2 separate regions of the Homo sapiens genome follow, and region 2 is linked to region 1. The links are contacts of gene promoters, found by promoter capture Hi-C in human tissues and cell types (Jung and others, 2019). All regions are on one chromosome and are shown on one strand. Each heading gives the region's core, a stretch centred on a gene start or on the middle of the fragment in contact. The rest is flanking DNA. Distances are from core to core; before and after follow the strand shown. Region 1 holds the start of HSF2BP (heat shock transcription factor 2 binding protein). Region 2 overlaps RSPH1 (radial spoke head component 1).

Region 1 (3,680 bases), core at 386-2,885:
TCAGACTTCCCAGGAAAGTGTATTTTCTTTTTTTGGGTAGTCTGGTGATTTCTCTTAAAAATAAAACAAACTGAGAATGTCAGTGATGGGGGAGATAATATCTGTTCTTTTAAGCAGATTCTAAATGTATTAGTACCATCAGTAACTAAATAAAACTTTATCTTAAAACCTCTATTACACATTGTAGTTCATATTGTATGGGCTCACTCAAGAGTTTATAGAAAGTATTTTTGGATCAGGTAAATGAAATCATCCAACAGCAGTGCCGTTAAAATCTAAACTACAAAGCCCTGTGTGATCTGGCCACTGCCTACATCTCCAACTTCATCTCATAACACTCGCCCCCCCAACCCCAACTTATTGGTCTTTCAAACCACTCCTAGGGCACGTGAAGCTCTTTCCTGCCTCTGCATAGGCGGTTTCCGCTCATTTCTCTTCAGATCTGAGCTGATTATCAGCCCAGAGAGGCCTTCCCAGAACAGCCTATCAAGAAGAGCAACCTCCTTCCCTTTTTGCTATTATCTGGTTTTCTTTTTCCTTTTTTCTTTTCTTTTCTTTTTGAGACGGAGTTTCGCTCTTGTTGCCCAGGCCGGAGTGCAATGCTGCGATCTCGGCTCACCGCAACCTCCGCCTCCCAGGTTCAAGCGATTCTCCTGCCTCAGCCTCCCGAGTACTGAGATTACAGGCATGCGCCACCATGCCCGGCTAATTCTGTATTTTTAGTAGAGCCGGGGTTTCACCATGTTGGTCCGGCTGGTCTCGAACTCCCGACCTCAGGTGATCCGCCCGCCTCGGCTTCCCAGAGTGCTGGGATTACATGCGTGAGACACCGCGCCCGGCCTGCTACCTGGTTTTCATTTCCTTTACTACACTTACACAAGGTCTACTTTATTTGCCTGTTTGCCTCCTTGCTTTATTACTAATAGATCCTCGAGGGTAGTGATTTTGTCTGTCTTCTCTCCTGCAGCCCCGTCACGTAAAGGTGCTGGTCAAAGGAAGGCGGCAATCACCGACCGGACACCAGGGCAAATCAGGGCAGCCCAGTGATTCGAGATGCCGGCTGGGGAATCGGACCCATGTGGGTCTTTTCTCAGCTTCCCCGCTTACTGTGACTTTCATAAGTAACGGAACCCCCTCAACCCGTTTCCTTAAGTGTAAAAAGGCACTAGACACAGCAAGAAGCGGTTCCGGCAGCGCGGAAACCGAAGCACACGCTGGGTGTCACGACAACACGTGGAAGCCGCATTCCGTGCCGGGGCCCTGGCCCTAGCCCCAGCCCCGGCCCCCGGCCCGCCATGTGGCGCGGCTGACCGCGGCCGTGCGCCCACCTGTCTCCCTCTGCGTCTTCACGCTGATGTACTGGCGCAGCTTCTTCACCGCTCGGTCCCGGATGCCCTTCTCGCTGGACGCCAGCCGCTGGGCAAATTGGATCTCGGCCGGCTGCATGGCGGGGGCCATCGCGCCCGCTGGAGCATCCCCGGCCGCGCAACCCGCGGTGCCGCTGCAGCCAGCCGAGCGCTGCGGAGCAGCCAGCCACCGTCCGCCCGGGCCGCGACTGCACAGAAGGCGGCGGCGGCGGCGCGCGGGCTGATGGCGTCACAAAGGCGCCGCGGCTCGCAGCGCGCTCTGGGAGTGAGCGCGGCAGTGGCCCTGGCAGCTGGCGGAGCGGCCCAGCCCGTGTGCACGTGGCGCCGGCGCTGCCTTTCGGTTGCCAAAATTCAGGCTGTAGACGGCGAGGTTAGCCAGGGTTAGGACTTGACCAGGAAGAGACGGAAGGCTGTTTGTAAACGGTCTAGGATTTTTTGTTTGTTTTTGAGACAGGGTCTCCCTCTGTCGCCCAGGCTGGAATGCAGTGGCGCGATCTTGGCGGTGATCCTGGCTCACTGCAGCCTCGACCTCCCAGACTCGATCGATCCTCCCATCTCGACCGCCCAAGTAGCTGAGACTACAGGCGCGCGCCATCACGCCCCACTATTTGTTATTTTTTTGTAGAGACGGTGTCTCGCTATGTTGCCCAAGCTGGTCTCAAACTCCTGGGCTCAAGCAATCCTCCCGCGGCGGCCTCCCTGATCGCTGGGATTACAGGCTTGAGCCGCCGCGCCTGGCCACGGTCCAGGATCTTTAATCCCATTTAGCACACCTCGTTGAGCCAGCAGCTTACCTGCGATCTCCGTGGCGTGGAGTTTTTAACTGTGGAGCCCCCGGGCCCCCGGGTGGAGTTGAGACTGGAAGGAAAGGCCGGCACTGGGGCCTGTTGAGCGGGTGGAGGGCTCGCCTTCCTCCAGTGCCTGCAGAGGCTTGGGCAGATCGGTGCGCCCCTACCCCGGAGCCCTGGTGCCAGTGCAAGGGCGCCCGCGCAGGCGTCCCGAGGCCTGGCGAGCACGCGCGCTTCCAGGGGAGTTGGGCAGGGCGGGCTGCTTGCTAATTCCAGAGAGGGAAGAAATCTTAGCTTTGGGTTCATCTAAAACCCGAGGCCATCCTATATTTTGCGGACTCAGCGGGCGTGCTGGGGCAAGTTAATGGACTAGGTCACTCCACACGTAGCGGGGGTTATCTCAGTTGCTCCGCTCAGTTGTCTAGGCGACCTCCCGAGGTGCCTGTTGACACAAAAATTCAACCCTTAACGTAAAAGCGCCTGAATCCGAGCGAGGGAAGGCGCGCGGAGGCGAGGTTTCCAGCAAAGACTGCCCATTTGAACGCAGTCCCCCTTAGTGTAGCATTCCTCGCCAAACAGGAAAGGACCCATCCGATTTATTTTACTTGACACTTACATCAGGGGCTGACTTTCCTTCTGCTTTGCAGATAACAAGTTTAAAACCCCGGCTAAGCCAGAAGAGCCAAAGAGGGACCTCGCCAAGGCCACTCCTCGCTCTCTAGGCCGAGAATACTGCGCAAATTCTGGGAGGTTTGGGCCTGGCGGCTCTCCGTTCCCGACCCCCGGCGTGGATTCGTTCCCGCGCTTTCTGGCGTGAGGGGTCAGAGGGCGCGCCGACGCTCAGGCGAACGGAGCGGAGGCGGCAGCGGCCATGGGCGAAGCGGGCGCCGCTGAGGAGGCCTGCCGGGTTAGTGAGGAAGCCCTGGCCGACGCCAGCGTGTTTGAACCGTCGCCATTCGCTCCCCTCAGGGCCTCGCCCCGTGCGCTCGGAGACGGCTCGCTGTCGCGTGCTTGGGGGAAGCCTGGAGACTTCCTCCCCTAACGGCGTGGGCTGGGCCGGAGCGGGGTGGAGACCTGGGGCGGGAGGCGACTTCGCCTCCAAACCCACGCGGGGACCCGGTCTGTGAGGCTGCGCGTGGTGGGGGCACTCAGTGGCGCCAAAGCGGGCATGGGAGCGTGGGATGGATGGTCACTCTCTTCTCTGCTCCGTGGAAGCCCAGTTCCCCTCCGAAGGCCCTGGCCCCCTGCTTCGGGACTTAGCGTCAGGCTTAGAGAGAATCTGCCCTCCATCGATTTTATAACTGTAACTGATTGCATGCGATGGAGAAGGCGCTTGGACTGGGGCCAGATCCGTGTTCACATCCTGCTTCCACCCGTTATTAATTGTGCTGCATTGAGAGTCATCTAGCTCCCGTGCCTTAATTTCCATCTAGACAATCTTGGAGGCTTGGGGTGAATAGTAGATGAGATCACGGGCGGAGGGCTTGGCAAACCCAGTAGGAAACCAGATGACTTCCTTTTCCTC
Region 2 (3,680 bases), core at 484-2,983, 1.2 Mb after region 1:
AAGACATGGCCAGGTCAGAACCGTTGACTTGACTGGATGGTTTTCTCTATTTAATACTCTGTTAGCAAATGCTACATTCAGCAATGATATGAATGATATAATCAATGTGTTTCAGGGGATCTACAAATTTAAAAATGGTGCTCGATATATCGGAGAATATGTTAGAAATAAAAAGCACGGTCAAGGCACTTTTATATATCCAGATGGATCCAGATATGAAGGTAAAATGTTATCACTAAGCAGATTTTCGTGTTACAGAAGTTTTTCTTTCTTTATGACTGAACTTGTCTGTGAATACTGACATGTATGAGAAAGCTTAAAGTTCTCCAGTTACTCATTCAACGAACACAGATCGTGTTACTATATTCACAGTGTTGATGCAGAAATAGGAAAGCCTTGTAATTAATTAACTCACTAATGAATCTGTAGTGGGAAATCTGTCCCTGTGGCCAGCATGTCCATGTCCTGGGAGCAGACAAAAGGGAGGCTCCTGAGTGGACGCAGGCCTCGCAGCTGGTGGACCCACGGCTTCAGCTGCTCTGCGGCATTCATCTTCCTGAACCTGTCTTTGCATTTTCCATTTCTGACCAACCCCGCCATCTGACGGATGTGTTATTTCTTCAGATCGAGTGTTTCCTTACATCAGGGCTTCCTGTCTGGGAGTCTTCCTGCCTTGTTAAACTGACTTTTCCTACCTGTGCCATAAGTCCTTACAGGCCAATGTTATGTTTGAGGAGGATTCTTTTTCCTTTATTTCCAAGAACCTCCCTGCCGCCCCTTGTGCCGTTGTCACCTGGTGTGACCACATTAGTGATATCCCAAACCTGGGCAGGGGGACCGGCAGGGAGCGTGTTGTGAGTCTTCAGAAAGTGTATATAAAATTCTGTGTTCTGGGCTTTTTGTTTTTTCCCTAGGAAGAAAGAAATTGTCTAGTTTTCTTCAGATTTCCAAAAAGATCTGTGACCCTAACCTTGGACTCTGGTGACAATAGGTGTGAGCTTGCATAGGTGACTTCACATCTCCTTGCCTCAGTTTCTCATCTGTAGCATGAAGATTCAATGGATAAACACAGGGAGACACCTGCAACCTTGCCTGATCCATAGTGAGCACTCAGTAACTGGGGCTAGGACTGTGATGTACCACTTGTGACAGCATCACTTCTTAGTGAGGAGGACATATTCTTACAAAGTGCGAGCTATAGTTGCTTGCTTTGCTCCTAGATAAAATAAGAACCAGTAGGTGGTTCTTATTTTAATAGATGTCAGTGATGATTCTGTCCAATTCTGAGACCAAGATGGAGGGTTTTAATACCATCCCTGTTAGATAGAAATTGTTTTGTTTTGTTTCATAAATCCCAGAAGGCTTGCTCTATAAGAAGCACCATCTGCTTTTTAAATCAACTTTAAACAATTTAATTTGGGGCTTAATTTAATTCTTTCCAAATCCTTATGCACCTAATCTCATTCTTGTCACTTTTGATTTTAGTGTAGATGTTGATACAATTTGAACAACACACACACACACGAAGATATTTAGGATAAGGGATTTAAGGAATTTTGAATATGAAGGTTAAAAATGGGTAACTGTTTCTCTGACACCAAATGCATGGATTTTCCATGCTATGTACTTCTCCAGTCTTCTGTGAACACCAACTGAGTTTCCAATGATGCAACTCCATTCTGACACCACCCAGAGTTAGCACAGACCCCACAGGTTAAGGGCTCAGTTTCCAAGACTGCCCCACTTCAGATGTCAACCTCAAGTTGTGGATCCGGAGGGTACCCACAGTTCTACCTGACTCGGCTACAAATTGGGGGTTCCTACAACACCCTACTCAGGTTTGATAATGTGCCATAGCGGCTCATAGGACTCAGGAAAGCACTTTACTCATGTTTACTGTAAAGGATATTATAAAGAATATGGATGAACAGCCAGATTCAGAGGTACAGAGGGCAAGGCCTGGAAGGTTCCCAAGCACAGGAGCTTCTGTCCTTGTGGAGGTGGAGTGCACCACCCTCCTGGCACATGATATGTTTATCACCCCAGAAGCTCAACAAATCTTGCTCAAGAGTTTTTACAGAGCTTAATCTCTGGCCCCTTCCTTCTTCTTTACCAAAAGTTGGTGGGTGGGGCTGGAGGTTCTATCCTTCTTATCACTTGGTCTTTCTGGTGTTCAGTCCCATCTTGAGGCCATCCTGGGCCTCATTTGCATAAGTTCAGGTGTGGTCAAAAGAGTCTCATTTTGAATAACAAAAACATTTCTATCAGTCAGGAAATGTCAAGGGTTTTAGGAGCTCTGTGCTGGGAACCATGAATAAAGACCAATATTTCTTATTATGCCACACTAACATATAAAGCTCTTCTGGTAACAGTTGGGATTTTTGATTCTCCAGATGGCTTTGTATCTTAAAGGGTGCAAGATTTAGCCACTACCCAGAGATTTCTTCTCTGACAAAAGCTTAAATAAGTGTCTTACTTCATGAAGGCAGCAATGGAAACTGAGGTCAGAAGTTATAATATTAATTATAACATAGTAAGCCAATACTCTTCCAATCACAAAATCTCAGTTAATGTATGGCTGAGTTATTCATAACAGTGTATCTTGGCTGGCTGCCATCACAATGGGCCAGAATGGTTTTGTGCAGGGCAGTGTGTTCAACGTCAGGACCCTGTGGCATAAAGTCCAGTACCCTACCTGTCTCCCAGATGGTCACACAAGTCCAATTAGGGAGTCCAGGAGCCAGCAGAGGCTATAGTGCTGCAGGAGAGGAGTGGGGAGACGGTCCTGGGTGGCGGGTGACTTGGATACAGGCAGGAAGGCCGAGGTTTTTAGGGGTAGTGGGGGATGAGATGGAGGGGAGGGTGGGTGCCAGATGTGGGGGAGGCCTAGACCCCATGTACTGATGCTGAGGGTTGGGGGTGTAGGGCCAACTGAGGACTCTGAGGTTAAGGGGGAGAAAGAGCATCCCTATTCCCTGCTGGCCTTGTTGCCTGTCAAACAGAACTCATCAAAACAAAGAAGTTTAAGAATGACATTGTGGAGAAAGAAGAATGACATGATAACTTGAACCTGGGTTTTTTGGAAGCCCCCGAATGGCAGGAGCTGGAAAAAATGAGCACTTGACTGTTGGGATGCTTGTGGAGAAGAGAGCATGGTGTTAGACAGACTCCAATTTTCATTTCAGTCTTGCTACCCACCAGCTGTGGGACCTTGGGGAATGCATGCAGTCTCTCTGCTTTTCAGGTTCTGCATCTGTAAAACCATATTTCAGCGATTACACATACCAAATGCTGTGGCAAGTGCACGGAACCCTGCCCAGGGTCTGACACCGAGTGTTTCCCCATAAGTGTGGGCTCCTTCTCTCCTGTGTTTGGCTGACCCAGCAGTTTAGGGAGCCAACTTGGCAAGACCATGGGCCAGCATGGCAAACCAGTGACCAACCAGCATTTGAGGGGGGAGGAGCATCTTGGAGAGCTTCTCATTTTAAATTGTCTTCAATCCCAAGTGCCAGACAAACTGCTCTACCCAAGGAGCACCTGCTCCACACCAGCCAACTGACCCACAACCAGCCAATCAAACAGCCAACCAATCAACCAACCAGCCAACTGACTAGCCAACCAAGCAACCAATCAACCAACCAATTAACCAACCAACTGTCTAACCAACCAACCAATTAGCC

The links. The method cuts DNA at HindIII sites, captures the fragments that hold promoters and counts their contacts. A contact is called where the count stands out against the background at its distance.
Region 2: a fragment that was not itself captured here is called in contact with the fragment with the promoter of HSF2BP in region 1 in 1 of the 25 tissues and cell types used here (lymphoblastoid cells).

Annotation. Positions count from the first base shown.
Region 1 is chr21:43,657,443-43,661,122 of GRCh38, reverse strand. HSF2BP (heat shock transcription factor 2 binding protein) reads left to right here and starts at 1,635. Exons shown (of 9, transcript NM_007031.2): 1 at 1,635-1,737; 2 at 2,803-3,062. The coding sequence starts at 3,027. RRP1B (ribosomal RNA processing 1B) reads right to left here and starts at 1,563. Exons shown (of 16, transcript NM_015056.3): 1 at 1,329-1,563. The coding sequence starts at 1,458. RefSeq lists an enhancer at 571-620 and a silencer at 1,341-1,530. The HindIII fragment of the contact is 9,655 bases long and covers 1-3,680 here.
Region 2 is chr21:42,489,299-42,492,978 of GRCh38, reverse strand. RSPH1 (radial spoke head component 1) reads left to right here. Exons shown (of 9, transcript NM_080860.4): 2 at 1-13; 3 at 116-221. Among named protein-coding and RNA genes, the nearest start is that of RSPH1, 5.1 kb to the left of the region's middle. RefSeq lists an enhancer at 1-619. The HindIII fragment of the contact is 4,264 bases long and covers 1-3,680 here.